Regions from separate parts of the Homo sapiens genome. Here all the other regions are linked to region 4. The links are contacts of gene promoters, found by promoter capture Hi-C in human tissues and cell types (Jung and others, 2019). All regions are on one chromosome and are shown on one strand. The core of a region is centred on a gene start or on the middle of the fragment in contact, and the rest is flanking DNA. Distances in the headings are between cores, read along the strand shown. Region 1 overlaps TLE2 (TLE family member 2, transcriptional corepressor). Region 2 holds the start of ZNF57 (zinc finger protein 57). Region 3 holds the start of RAX2 (retina and anterior neural fold homeobox 2). Region 4 holds the start of NFIC (nuclear factor I C).

What was found. Contacts are between HindIII fragments. The study calls those that stand out against the background at their distance.
Region 1: a contact is called between a fragment that was not itself captured here and the fragment with the promoter of NFIC in region 4, in 1 of the 25 tissues and cell types used here (dorsolateral prefrontal cortex).
Region 2: the fragment with the promoter of ZNF57 here is called in contact with the fragment with the promoter of NFIC in region 4 in 2 of the 25 tissues and cell types used here (mesendoderm cells and thymus).
Region 3: a contact is called between the fragment with the promoter of RAX2 here and the fragment with the promoter of NFIC in region 4, in 1 of the 25 tissues and cell types used here (heart right ventricle).

What each region holds. Positions count from the first base shown.
Region 1 is chr19:3,022,560-3,026,212 of GRCh38, forward strand. TLE2 (TLE family member 2, transcriptional corepressor) reads right to left here. Exons shown (of 20, transcript NM_003260.5): 5 at 2,461-2,523. Among named protein-coding and RNA genes, the nearest start is that of TLE2, 4.9 kb to the right of the region's middle. The HindIII fragment of the contact is 4,166 bases long and covers 1-3,653 here.
Region 2 is chr19:2,899,677-2,903,231 of GRCh38, forward strand. It overlaps ZNF57 (zinc finger protein 57), which reads left to right and starts at 1,252. Exons shown (of 4, transcript NM_173480.3): 1 at 1,252-1,372. The coding sequence starts at 1,370. RefSeq lists a silencer at 640-689 and enhancers at 869-1,440, 1,300-1,449. The HindIII fragment of the contact is 10,438 bases long and covers 1-3,555 here.
Region 3 is chr19:3,770,697-3,774,049 of GRCh38, forward strand. RAX2 (retina and anterior neural fold homeobox 2) reads right to left here and starts at 1,532. Exons shown (of 3, transcript NM_001319074.4): 1 at 1,467-1,532; 2 at 831-1,314; 3 at 1-263. The coding sequence starts at 1,046. RefSeq lists an enhancer at 1-324. The HindIII fragment of the contact is 8,287 bases long and covers 1-3,353 here.
Region 4 is chr19:3,364,649-3,368,137 of GRCh38, forward strand. NFIC (nuclear factor I C) reads left to right here and starts at 1,935. Exons shown (of 11, transcript NM_001245002.2): 1 at 1,935-2,018. The coding sequence starts at 1,989. RefSeq lists silencers at 1,564-1,653, 2,104-2,253, 2,544-2,943. The HindIII fragment of the contact is 27,364 bases long and covers 1-3,489 here.

The DNA.
Region 1 (3,653 bases), core at 357-2,856, 340 kb before region 4:
ATAATAGATTTAAATATTATTAATAGTTAACCTAAGTGTAAATGATCACACGGGGCTGGTGACTGCCGTGTAGGATAGCGGAACAGTAGTATATTCCACTGTATGCACTCTGAGGCTGCTTGTGTATACACGCTCCTGAAGACAGACATCTGGGCTGTCTCCACCAAGGAGGTATCAGGATGCGGATACAGAGCTCCCATGGGGGTGCACCTGTGTGTGGGTGTGTGTAGGATGGGTTGGAAGACTTTCTAGAAAGGGCCAGAGAGTGAAAACATTTTCCCTCTGCAGGCCAGAGGTCTCTGTTGCAACTACCAAACTCTGTCACTGTAATGGGAAAGCTGCTGGAAATGATATGTACATGAGTGGGCGTGGCTATGTCAATAAAACTTTATTTGCAAAAACAAGTGGAGGGGTGGAGCTGGCCCTCGAGCTGCAGTTTGCTAATTCCTGGAAATGTGTGCCTTACTCATTCCTTTCAACAGTCATTTTACCTAATCTTTTTTTTTTTTTTTTGAGACAGAATCTCGCTGTGTTGCCCAGGCTGGAGTGCAATGGTGCGAACTCGGCTCACTGCAACCTCCACCCCCCGGGTTCAAGCAATTCTCCTGCCTCAGCCTCCCGAGTAGCTGGGACTAGCCCAGCTAATTTTTGTATTTTTAGTAGAAATGAGGTTTCACCATACTGGCCAGGTGGGTCTCAAACTCCTGACCTCATGACCCGCACGCCTTGGCCTCCCAAAGTGCTGGGATTACAGGCGTGAGCCACTGGGCTCGGCCTACCTAAACTTCTTGCGGCTCTTGCCTTTCTCTAGACCACCTCGTCCCCACTTTCCGCTGCAGATGCTCTTTATGTTCTGTGTCTACACAGGACCTCTCCCCACCCCAAGCTTCCAGAAATCTCAGACTCAGTGGAATCTGAACAAACTGAGCATCTCCCCTCTGGGTTTGGTCCTCAAGGCATCAAGGATCCTCCCAGTGTATCCACTCTGAAGTAGAACTATCTTTCACGTCTCTCTGAAGAGAGAACGTACCACACAGAAACAGGGACAGTGCAGGCTGGGTACAGTGGCTCACACCTGTAAACCCAACACTCGGAGCCTGACACGGGCGGATTGCTTGAGTCCGGGGGTTCGAGACCAGCCCGGGCAACATAGGGAGACCCGTCTCTACTAAAAATACAAAAATTAGCCGGGCGTGGTGGTGCACGCCTGTAATCCCAGCTACTCAGGAGGCTGAGGCATGAGAATCGCTTGCACCCAGGAGGTGGAGGTTGCAGTCAGCCAAGATCATGCCACTGCACTCCAGCCTGGGTAACAGAGCAAGAATCCATCACACACACACACACACACAAAAGAAAAGAAAAAGAAAAAAGAAACAGGGACTGTGCAAAGGTACTGAGGATGAAAGGAACCTGGGGCACTCTCAGAAGAGCTAACTTTTTTTTTTTTTTTTTTTGAGATGGAGTCTAACTCTCTCACCCAGGCTGGAGTGCAGCGGCGCAATCTCTGCTCACTGCAACCCCCGCCTCCTGAGTTCAAGCAATTCTATTCTCCTGCCTCAGCCTCCCGAGTAGCTGGGATTACAGGCAAACACCACCATGCCCGGCTAATTTTTTTTTTTAAGTTTTAGCAGAGACAGGGTTTCACCATGTTGGACAGGCTGGTCTCGAACTCCTGACCTCTGGTGATCCACCTGCCTCAGCCTCCCAAAATGCTGGGATTACAGGCAGGAGCCACCGCACCTGGCCGAATTACAGTCCATTTTAACCATTTGTAAGTGCACAGCTCAGCAGCATAAAGCACACACACGGTTGTGCAGCCATCCCCAGCACCATCTCCAGAATTTTCCCATCTTCCCAAACTGAATTTCTGTCCCCATAAAACTCTCACTCCCCGTCCCCTCCCCAACCCCTGGCACCCCCCATTCTGCTTTCTGTCTCAGTGAACCTGACGACCCTGGGACCTCCTAGGAGTGGATCACCCAGTGTTTGTCCCTCAGTGACTTCTTCTAGCAAGACGGTAGGGTTAACTTTCATCAGGTGCTGAGTAAGCGTACCCATCATCTCCAGCACCCTGGGTGTATGAGCTCATCTCAACTTCACACCTACGCTACTGAAAAAACAGAGACAAGTGTCCTGCCTGAGGCCACACAGCCAGGATTCAGACCCAGGCAGCCAACTTGCAGGGCTTGAGGGGGTCAGCTCTATGCCTTGCTTCCCATCAAGGGGGAAAACAGCCCCCAGTCCTCACCCTCAGCCAACACCTCCCTCCATCCCTGCAGCCCCTGCCCCAGCGGGATGCCTGGCCTCAGGGCTGCGGGACTACTGCAGTGAAAATGGTCTCTATCCGTGCTGCAGGCTACGCGGCAGAATCAGTGCCTGGGGCGTCCTCGCCCAGACCTACCCCCTCCCGTCTTCTTCCGGCTCCCTTCCCCTCCTCCCCCCACCCCCAGGCCCACTCACCTCCTGGGTCAGGAAGGGGATAATCTGAGCGCAGATACCGCTCAGACGCTTCACAATCTCCGCCTGGCAGGAAGCAATGAGAGGAAGCTTGGAGCGGGGTAGAGATTTGCAACCCAGCTCTGGACTCCCAGGCGGACCAGGTGTTGGCAAAGCCGAAGGGTTGGGGAGGTGACGCCCGCAGGTGCACAGAGGGAACTCAGGCTAGCATGGCATGGGCCGAGGTGGGATTCAGAGCCCCACCAGGCTGCGTGCTCAGCTGAGCGAGGCCCAGGGTGGCCTGGAGCTGGGAAGACCAGGGCTGAGGTCCTACGAGTCACAGATACACCACCCGCCAGACGCACACCCGCCAGGGATTTGCAGGAGGCAGACGCTCAGACACCCAACTCAGACGCAGACACTCAGAGGTGCTGGGCTCAGCTGAAACAAAGGAAAGGGGCCTCCGCCTGGAGTCCCAGATTCCAGCCCCGGCTTGGCCCACGTCTGTCCCAGGCAAGGCCCCTTTCTTGGTCTCCTCCGCTTCCCAGGACTGATCTACCAGCTGGGGATGCCTCCAGGTGGAGATCTCAGCACGCCACACTCAAGGGAAGGATTTCATCTGGAGAGGGTCTGGGCCCAGGTGCCCCAAAGAGGCTGAGCAGACGAGAAGGCGTGTGGGTGGGGAAGGGGGCGGGCATACAATGGCCACGGACTTTGCCTCTGCCTGAGTTACAGGTGTGCTGTGTGTCTGGCGAAGTCTGTGTCTCCTATTCCCACCAGGAGGGTGGAACTGGGATCCCAGGGTGTCCCGCACCCCATAAAGGGGGGTCTATTGCGTGGACCCATGGGACCACGCCATGCTTCAGCAGACAAGCCCCCTCCTGCCCACATCAGAACCAACAGAACCCCCACACATGCAGGAAAGCATGCCAGGGTGGGCAACCCCAGGCACCCCACACTCCCAGCCCACCCCCTTCTCCTTCCCAGCCACCGGGAAGTCCCAATACAAGGTTCTGCTCATTGATTCTAATATTCTGATAGAATCTAGGAGCCCATGAAGCTCAGAAGTTTGGGACCCCTCTCATCCCTTTAGAAACCACTGGCCAGTCTCAGGATCTCAGGATTAAGCATGGACCACTAAAGTCAATTTTAGAATCTTTGGGTCTATTGGCCGGGCAAGGTGGCTCACTCCTGTAATCCCAGCACTTTGGGAGGCC
Region 2 (3,555 bases), core at 2-2,501, 470 kb before region 4:
CTGAGGCAGGAGAATCGCTTTAACCCTGAAGGCGGAGGTTGCAGTGAGCCGAGATCACGCCACTGCACTCCAGCCGGGGCGACAGTGTGAGACTCCGTCTCAAAATAAAAAAATAAATAAAACAAAAAACAATGTCCAACAAAAAAACAAATCCAGCGAGGCCAGACAGGATAGGGGCTCCCTGGGGTCCGCCCATTTTCGGGATCAGGTGACTCGAGGTTTGGTCCTTATTTTAGTGCAGGCTCAGATGTCGGGGGCGAGCCAAAGTGCAGGGGCCTGTGGGAAGGACAGGAGGCTGGGAAACGTTTGGGTAAAAAAATCAGGACACTGGCCGTGCGCGGTGGCTCACGCCTGTAATCCCAGCACTTTGGGAGGCCGAGGCGGGCCGATCACGAGGTCAGGAGATCGAGACCATCCTGGCTAACACGGTGAAACCTCGTCTCTACTAAAAATACAAAAAAATTAGCCGGCGTGGTGGCGGGTGCCTGTGTCCCAGCTACTCGGGAGGCTGAGGTAGGAGAATGGCCTGAACCCGGGAGGCGGAGCTTGCAGTGAGCCGAGATGGCGCCACTGCACTCCAGCCTGGGCGACAGAGCGAGACTCCACCTCAAAAAAAAAAAAAAAAAAAAAAAAAAAAATCAGGACACTGACAGCACGTGCTCCAGCACGGGGCAGGGCCTCCATGGGGTCCGCGCCCACGCGGGGCAGCGCGGTGACGTCACGGCTGAGGACCCCGCCCCACGAAGGGCTCACCCCACGCGACCCACGCCGCTCGCTCGCCCCTCCCCTCCACGCAGCACTCCGGCTGCTCCGTGGGGAAACTGAGTCTGGACTTCTCGTGCCCGTTCGGGAGAAGGACGCGGGAGGCGCGGCCGAGCTGCGGGGAGAGGTTGGGCTCACCCCGGGCCAGAGCGAGTTCGCGCAAACGGGAGTGTCCACCGCTGGCGGGTCAGCCACTAGCGTTGGCTACGCGCCGGTCACTCGGGCGACAGGAGGCGGGGCGGCGCGGAAGTTATCTTCCAATCAGGTGCTCCGGGGGCGGGTCCGGAAAACTGTCCAATCAAGGCACGGGGCGGACACCGGGAAGCGGATTGCAGGTTTGCAGTAGTGTCCAATCGAAGGCCCCAGGGGTGAAGGGGGCGTGTCCAAAACGCTGTCCGCTCAGAGCGTTGAAAGGGCGGGGGCTTAGAGATTGTCCAATCAGGGCGCCGCTTCCTGAGCTCCGAGGCCCCGAGGGCGGGACGTTTCGTCCTCCCTGCCGCGCGTGCCCTGCCTACCACGAGCGGCCCGGGAGTACCTGTACCTTTCAGCTGCGCCGGCCGCGAGGCCACGGAGAGCTCGCCTTGGAGAGCCCAGGAGCAGGGGAGACATGGTGAGTGCGAGGCAGGAGCAGAGCCAGGGGACGGTCGGAGCGACGGGAACCGGCTGGAACCAGAGTCCGCCGAAGTCTGCGGCCGGGATTGGCTGAGGGACGCGCGGGGCGGCGCAGGACTAGCACCTGGGACCCGGGGACGCCATCACAGCGGCCGGGCTGGAGGACTGGGGGCAGTTTGGGGGGACGGAAGGGGCGGCAAGGAGCTTGGGGGTAACTTAGGGGGAGGCCTGGGCAGGAGGGGGGCTGGAGGTAGTTTGGGGGGACGGTAGGGGCGGTCAGGGGTCAGGGACCAGTTTGGGGGGACGGCAAGGGACGGTCAGCAGGTTGGGGATGTTACGCGTGTCCGTATAAGAGGTCACCTGAGCAGGCTTAGTGTGAGCCACAAGGCTGTTTACTCACTTGGGTGCAAGTGGGCTGAGTCTGAGAAAGGACTCAGCAAAGGGTGATGGGATTATTATTGGTTTTATTTTTTTATTTTTTTTATTTTTGGGACGGAGTCCCGCTCTGTCGCCAGGCTGGAGTGCAGTGGCGTGATCTCGGCTCACTGCAACTTCCGCCTCCCGGGTTCAAGCGATTCTCCTGCCTCAGCCTCCGGAGTAGCTGAGATTACAGGCGCCCGCCCTCACGCCCGGCTAATTTTTGTTTTTAGTAGAGACAGGGTTTCACCATGTTGGCCAGAATGGTCTCGATCTCTTGACCTTGTGATCCGCCCGCCTCGGCCTCCCAAAGTGCTGGGATTACAGGCGTGAGCCACCGCGCCCGGCAATCATTAGTCCTTATAGGTTTGGGACAGGCATCGGAGTTAGGAGCAGTTTTTTTGAGGACAGTTGGTGGGTGTTACAAAGTACATTCTCAAGGGCGGCGACGATGTTTCAAAGTACATTCACAAGGGCTTGGGGGATGTATTGTCACAAGGGCTGGGAGGAATATTACAAAGTACCTTCACAAGGGCGCGAGCGTGTATTGTCACAAGGGCGGGGTACATTCACAAGGGCGAGGAGGACGTATCGTACAAAGTACATTCACAAGGGCGGGGGAATATCACAAAGTACATTATCACAAGGGCGGGGGGCTTGACCATGGTGCGGCCAGCTCAGAGAACCTTACAGGGGACAGCTTGGGGGGATGGCAAGGGACGGCCTGGGGGTCAGAGGCAGTTTGGGGGACGACCTCAGCGGTGGGAGTTAGCTGCCCTGGGGGTTTTGTTGCAGGGTATCACTAATGCTGTGAAAGCTTTATTCGGGCAGCCGGTGTCAGTAAATGTACTGTACTGTTCTCCTGTTTGGCTTTTTTCTTCTCCTTAGTGACAATAGGAAAATGTTCAAGTGTGTTTTCTGCCTTCTGGTCCGTCAGGATAACACCTGTTTATCGTGGGGTACAGGCTAAGCATGGCCTAAGGAAGTCTCTCAGGAATATTCTGTCTCCCACCAGAATTGTAGAGAAAGTGTGCGCAGTTCCACATCTTATAGCAGCTAGAGATGGATTAAAATGTTCATAAAAATAGTAGTTTTTCAAATGCCAAAGCAATCAGACAAAAAATAATAGTTATTCTTCCATACAAGGTGCAGAGTTTGCGACAGTGTGTGATCGTGTTCCATTTCAGTTCAGCTAGACATGAGATTAATGCAAATTCTGCAAAAACCTGTAAAACTGAGGCGTGTTCCATTCTGGTTAGTTTCCAGTTTGTCACCAGGAGTATTGCTTCACTGATCCATCATCTGTTTGCTGACTGGGAAAAGCAGTTTCTGGCCATGTAAAGTCATAAAGACTGCCTTGGAACTCCCTTCCCCCACTTACACAAGGGGTGGAAAGCACTGATTCTGCTGCATTCTCACTCTACGGGATGAGGGTCTTTGTGGCATTTAAAGTGTAGCACCTGGAGCAGGGAGGTGAGCCCCAAGACCGGTGACTCCAGCTGAGCCCACAGTTGAGCCTGCACTGGAGGCCGCTGAGGGTGCAGCGGGGTCTGGCTGGGCAGCCTCCACTTGCTCAGTCCTCCTGCCTCGTAGAACAGCCGCAGCGGGAACTGTTCATGCTGATTGAGGCTGCTGAGCATGGGAAAGACGATTGTCCTGGAGATGTGCTTGTGGGCGTTTTAGCCTTTCTGAGGTTGCACCTGTGCTGTCTTGGAGCCGTTTCTAAGCAGTGGGTTTAGTTTATGCTTTAAGTGTTGTTTTTCT
Region 3 (3,353 bases), core at 282-2,781, 410 kb after region 4:
GCGAAGCCATCTGCGAAGGTGGGAGCAAAGGCATGAGGCCCGAAGGACGCTTGCAGCCCCGGGCCCGGGCCCAGGAGGCGGGGGAGGCCTGGCACGGCCGGCGGTCCGGGGCCCAACCAGGGCTCCAGGGGCAGCGACATGGCCGGGGGGCGGGCGAACGGCAGCGCTGGGGCCTCGGGGAGTCTCGGAGCTGCCACGGCACCCGAGCCTGACTCCAGCCGCTCCTGGCGGCGCCACTTGGCCCGGCGGTTCTGGAACCACACCTGGAGGGTGCGAGAGGGAAGGGGGGTTGCTGTGAGCTCAGCCGCTCCCCGCCAATCCTCGGACCCCCTCTGCACACCCCAGCCCTGGGGGTTCTGACTCCCGTCTGACCCGACTCCTACCTGCTGCTTCGCTGTTCTGCCCCAAGAAGATGAGGATCTCCCAAGCGTTCCCTAAGCCCAGGCTCCCCTCCAACTCCTCACTCCCCTCCTTGGCCTCCCTTGGCCCTTAGCAAGTAACCTGAGCTGCCTAACGTGGCATTCAAGGCCTTCAAAAGCGTTGTTACCCACACCATTCTCTGCCTCCTCCTTCACCCCTGGCTCAAGGGAAACGCCTCCAACTTAACCCCTCCATGTCTTTGCACACACTGTTCAGGATGCCTAGAAAAACTCCCCTTTTCCTTCCCAGCTGGCACACTCCTACTCAAATGTCAAAACCTCAGCTCCCACACCCCCTCCTCCAGGAAGCCTTCCTAGCTTCTCTTCTGCTGTTGCTCCGGGAGGGTCAGGATCTTGCTTTGCCTCCCTCCCCAGGTTGCAAAAGATGTGTGTGTTGGGGGGTGCCCTCACCTGCACGCGCACCTCAGGTAGGTGCACCTTGGCTGCCAGCTCCTCACGGCTGTACACATCCGGGTAGTGAGAGGCCTCGAACGCCCGCTCCAGCTGGTGCAGCTGGTAGGTGGTGAAGGTGGTGCGGTTCCTCCGGTGCTTCTTCTTGGGGGCCTCCTCGCCCGGCCCCAGACCCCCACCCTCGGTTGCCGGCCCCTCGCCCGGGCTCAGGAACATGGCTCCCACCTGGTGGGACGGCAGCGGGACAGATGGTGGGGAGACGGCTGGGGGGGCTACCGGCAGGGACAGGGCAGGGGAGCCCCAGGCTTGCCTCCCGGCTCCGGGGAAATCGGTTCCCTCCACTGGGGCCGGCATGCGCTCTGCATCCCCAGGCTGTCCTCCTCGGGCTTGGGGGGGTCTCCTGCTGTGCCTCTGTCTGCTCTTCCTTCTCTCTGTGTGTGTCACCGTCCCTGTTTTCTCTTCCCCTCTCTGTGACTGTCACGGCCTGTGTGTGTGTGTGTCGGCGGGGGGGGGTCAAGGATGCCCCCCCGTCAAGGAAGGCAGGATCCCTTCTCACGCCCTAAGCCCTCCACCCTGAGGGGATCTCTGCCCCCACCACCTCCTACCCAGGCCCACCAGTGCCCACCCCGCACTCACCGCCCACGGCAGCCCCTCCGTCGATTTCCACGGGACACCTGCCCCAGCGGGCCTGGCGCTGCGTCTGCTGTGGCCTGGCCCTGCCGGAGCCGAGCCAGGTCGGGGCTGCGTGGGGGAGGATTAGCTCAAGGTGATTAATTGAGGCGGCCCCTCCCACTTGGTCCTGGGCTGTTCTGAGCCAGGAGGGAGGGCAGGGTGGATGGAGGGCTGGGGCTCTAAGTGGGTGGCTGGGGGGATAGTCTTACAGGCTCCACGGCCCCTTGCCATAAGACGGCAAGGGCCTCTCCCTCTCTGGGCCTCAGTTTCCCTGGCTGTAAAACTGCCACACTAGGACCTACCCTGGGGGGATTTCAGCTTCTCAGAGCATCGCACAGAAATTGGCATACAGGGGGCACTTAATGAATGCTCACTGTTAATATTTTTATCTGCTGGGGGCAGAAAAAGGTGTCTTAGAACTCACAGATGTCAGAGGCAGTTGGGGAAGCTGAGGTCCAGAGGTGAAGGCACTGCAGTTGGTTCCTCTGGACACAAGGGGTAGGGACCCTTTTAGCTGGGTCTGGAGGTATGAATAGACGTTCACCATTCACAGCCGGGCGCAGTGGCTCACGCCTGTAACCCCAGCACTTTGGGAGGCTGAGGCGGGCGGATCACCTGAGATCATGAGTTTGAGACCAGCCTGGCCAACATGGCAAAACCCTGTCTACTAAAAATACAAAAATTAGCCAGGCGTGGTGGTGGGTGCCTATAACTCCCAGCTACTCGGGAGGCTGAGGCAGGAGAATTGCTTGAACCTGGTGGGGTGGAGCTTGCAGTGAGCCAAGGTCATGCCATTGCACTCCAGCCTGGGCAACAGAGTGAAACTCCATCTCAAAAAAAAAAAAAAACAAAAAACCAAAACCACCACCAACAAAAAAGAAAAACAGAAGTTCACCATTCAATAAACATTTATTGAGCACTTACTGTGTACCAGGTACTGCTCACAGCAGTAGTGACCAAAACAGACAGAAGTCACGGGGCTGACTTTCTAGCAGGGCAGACAGACAACCAACCACTGTGTTAAAATGCAGAGCGTGGCCAGTGGCCACGAGCCTAGGGAGAAAACCCACGGAGGGGGGCCTGTGGGGGCAAGGTGGGTTGATATTTCATTTAGTTTTTGGGTTTTTTTTTGAGACAGAGTCCTACTCTGTCGCCCAGGCTGGAGTGCAGTGGCACGATCTCAGCTCACTGCAACCTCCGCCTCCTGGGTTCAAGCAATTCTCCTGCCTCAGCCTCCTGAGTAGCTGGGATTACAGACACCTGCAACCACGCCTGGCTAATTTTTGTATTTTTTAGTAGAGACACGGTTTCGCCACCTTGGCCAGGCTGGTCTTGAACTCCTGACCTCGTGATCCGCCTGCCTTGGCCTCCCAAAGTGCTGGCATTACAGGTGTGAGCTACCCCGCCTGGCCTATTTTTGTTTTTTTGAGAAGGAGTCTCACTCTGTTGCCTAGGCTGGAGTGCAGTGGTGAGATCTCGGCTCACTGCAACCTCCGCCTCCCAGGTTCAAGTGATTCTCCTGCCTCAGCCTCCTGAGTAGCTCGGATTACAGGTGCGCCACCACGCCCAGCTAATTTTTGTATTTTTACTGAAGATGGGGTTTCACCGTGTTGGCCAGGTTGCTCTTGAACTCCTGACCTCAGGTGATCCACTTGCCTCGGCCTCCCATAGTGCAGGAGTTCCAGGCGTGAGCCACCGCGACCAGTCGGGTTGCTATGTTAAGGAAGGTGGTGAGAATGGAAGATGGAGTGCAAAGCCGCAAGTTCTGGACACATGGGGTGTGAAGGATGGAGTGCTGGGGAACCATGGGAGGTTGTGGAGCAGGGACACAGTGGCATTTTATACAAACAT
Region 4 (3,489 bases), core at 685-3,184:
ATGAGGAAACCGAGGTTCCAAGAGGGGCAGTCTCTGCTCTCTAAACTTCACCTTCCAAAGGATTCTAAGCTGCTGAATGAAGGCTGCAGGCAGGGTGGTCTGTACAGGGGAGGGAGGGTGGAAGGCACGGGGTCTGGAAGTCTAGGAGGAGTGTCTGAAGTCAACTGCAACTTTTAAATATCTGTGAATTTTAGATTTCACCCTGTATGTGTCCCTAGCGTGTTTTAATAAAATAAATTGCTTCACGTTATATTGGTATGTGGATTTCCAGATACACTTCTCACCATTTAATTCAAATGCTCCCCACAGCTGCACAGTGGGTTTAAAATACACAGACACACACATTTATGGACCGTTCGTGATGTACTAAGCACTGTTTGAATAATGTCACCGTCATGCAGAGGGGAGCCTGTGGGGGGCCTAGGGAACCTACGCTGCAGGAATTCTGCTCCCTCCTAGTTTACCTGTCAGACCCTGGGCAAGTGGCTTCCGTTCTCTGGGCCTCAGTTTCCTCTCCTGTAATGCCTGAGGATAATGGGTGCTGGTATCTTCTGCGCCCCTGGGCCTGGGGCACCTGCCCCAGCTTGGTGAGAGGGTATCATTTGTCCTTGGGAAGCTCAGAGAGATGAGGTGAAATGGCCAAGCTTTCTAAGAATGTGTCTTTAGTGAACATTTGACCCAAGGTCAAGGCTCTGCTAAGGTCATTGTCCTTATCCCCAGCAATCCCACAGGATGGGCATCTTTAAGCCACTTTATAGGGGAGAACCCTTGGGATGGGAATGAGAGACACAGCAGCCTCTGAGCTAGCCTGGGAGGATCCAGGGAGTGAACCGGGGGAGGGTTGGGGCCCTGTCATCAGATGCCCTGGGGGCTCAGACGGAGGCAGGCCAGGTCTCTGCCCTGTTACGTCTAGAAGGAGAACAGAATGTGGGCTCCAGGTCCAGATGGCCTGGCTCCAAGCCACACTTGCCATACCTCAGTCTTGAGATCTGTGAAAAGGGCACACCCCTGAGGCAGGTGGAAATTATTGGATACCCAGGGGGAGGCTGCAAGGGTTTATCTGGCCAGCTGGAGATCCCGCCTGGACACCGTCCTCCTGGGGTGCTGGAGAGACACACAGGCGAGGCCACCCCTCCCCTGCCCCTTGGGTGCTGGGTGAAGAGAGCAAATTCTGGAGCCTCCCGTGTTAGCCTGGGCCCTTCTGGCCAAGGAAGGGACAGCTGCACACAAGCCCCTCTAGCTGGGGACCCGCAGCCCCTGCCTGGCTCTGGGGGGAGAAGGGAGCCAGGGTGCTGTGGGACCAGCTCACCGTGCACCCAGGGTCGTACATCTTTAAGGGGAAAGAGGCGCGCTGGCCGGCCTCTGCGCACGTCACTTCTTCATTCCTTCCCTCCCCCCTGGCTCTTTCCTCCAACTTCCCGGCCAGCTCGGGGGTGATGGGGGGGTGGGGAGGGGGGGCCTTAAAAATCCACCCCTGGCCCCTCAATGTCCAGAAACAACCCTGTCCCCCCTCTCCGCTTGATCCGAATTGGGGTCGCCCTGCAGTCCTGGGGTCCTGGTCTAGTGCCCTGGGGCATTGCGTAAATACGGGAGGAGCGGGGGGGTCCTGAGACGTCGGGGGAGGCTCTCCTTTCTCGCTCGCGCCCTTTTTTCCCTCGTTTCTTTGAAAGTTGGGTGTTGAGAAGTGGGAGGTTCGGGGTGGGAGGGGGAGGGTGTCAGAGGGTAGAGAGAGAGACAGAGAGACAGAGACGGGGGAGAGAGGAAGAGAGAGACGGAGGGAGAGAGGGACAGAGAGCGAGGCGGGCGGCGCGAGAGAGGGAGAGCAGGAGGGAGGAGGAGGGAGACCGAGGGAGGAGGCGGCGAGGAGAGCGCGCCGGCCGCGGGGCGGGGGGGGGGGTTGGGGGGGGCGGGGGGGTGGTTTGGAAAAATGACTCAGTAAGTTCAGCGCGCCCGCTCCGGCCGGCCCTGCGCCTCCCGCCGCGCCCGGGATGTATTCGTCCCCGCTCTGCCTCACCCAGGTACGGTCCTCGCCCGGCCCCCCGCCGGCGCCCCCGCGCCCCCCGCATCCCAGCCCCGGAGTTTTGAAGCAGGAGGAGGCGGGACGAAAAAGGCGCGCGTCCCTCCCGCCATCCCTGCCCGGGATGCCCCCCGCGCCGAGGGCTGGGGTCCGGTGGGGGGATGGGTCAGGCTGGGGTACCCCCCCCACACCCTTACCTACCGCGGACCCCCTACGCGGGACTCCCGCCCAGCACCCCCAACCCCGACTCTCGGGACCTCTCCCGGATGTGGGGCTTGGTCTGCAGATTTGCGTCCCCCCCCCACACACCGACGCACTCCGCACCCCCGCCCCGACACTCGGAAAGGTCGGGGTGGGGGCTGGCCCCCCTCCAGCAAGGGCTCTGCGGGAAGCCCCCCGCCTGCCTCTGAGAGGAATCTAGGGGGTCGTGATTGGACCCTGGGTCTCCCCAGCTGGAGAGAAAGGGACCTCTCATGTGTTTTCCCCGTGTCCCCCCACCAAGGTTGTGCGGGCCGCCCTGGCCCTCGGTCGCCTTTCCCTCGTTATTGGCCCACGTGTGCATGGAGGGGGAGGGGGCAGGAGAAGTTGGAGGCCCAGGAGGGGGAAGGGTGCTCCGGCGGCCCGGCTGGGTCCCCCCTCCTTTGCAAGCCCCCCAGCACCGTCCCGGTATTTTCGCTGCATCGATTCTGGATTCTGGATTCTGGATTCTGGAGCCGCCGCCGGGAGGAGCGGGAGGCCCGGCGCTCCGGGTCTGGCCCGGGCACTGCGGCGCTGCGGACGCCCTCGCCAGCCCGGCACCTGCCCCGTCCCCTCCCCCTCCCCCTCCCCCTCCCGTAGCCTCTCACCCCTGGCCGCACTCCCAGACTGCCCCGGGGCCGAGCCTTGTGCAATGGCCGAGGGGGTGTGTGGGGAGGGGGCGGCTCCCCCCGGGGACTCCTTCCAGCCCAGGCTCCCGGGGACCCCGAGGTCTGCAAGTTCCGTTTTCTAGACCGCTGCTTTCCTCCTTACGCAGTGTGTCTTTAGGCTGGAGAGGTTCTGGCCTCAGTTTCCCCTGAAGTGAGGTGCGGCTAAGGCCGGTTCTGGAGAGGGGACAGTATGGCGGGCAAACTGTAAAGTCCCGGCACGTGGGGGGTGCGATTCCAGCGAGGGCCAGGCCCGTCTTAAGAAGCACTGTGTGGGGAGTATATGAGTCCCCGGCTTCCGCTCCAGGGCATGGTGCAGTGAGGGACCCCCCACGCCAGGCATGCTCCTTGGTAGGGTCTTTCTCACCGGCCCCCTGCAGCCGACAGGGAATGTGGGAGCTGGTGCTGAGGGGGTCTGAGGTCTGTCCTACCTGTGATCCCCTGAGTGACCTTGGGTAAGTCCCTGTCCCAGCCTCAGTTTCCCTTTCTGAGCAGCTTTGGGGGGGGGGTTCCCGAAGAAGGCATCTCTTTGAAGTTCTCCAAGAACAACTAGGGTTCGAGTGGGCACGC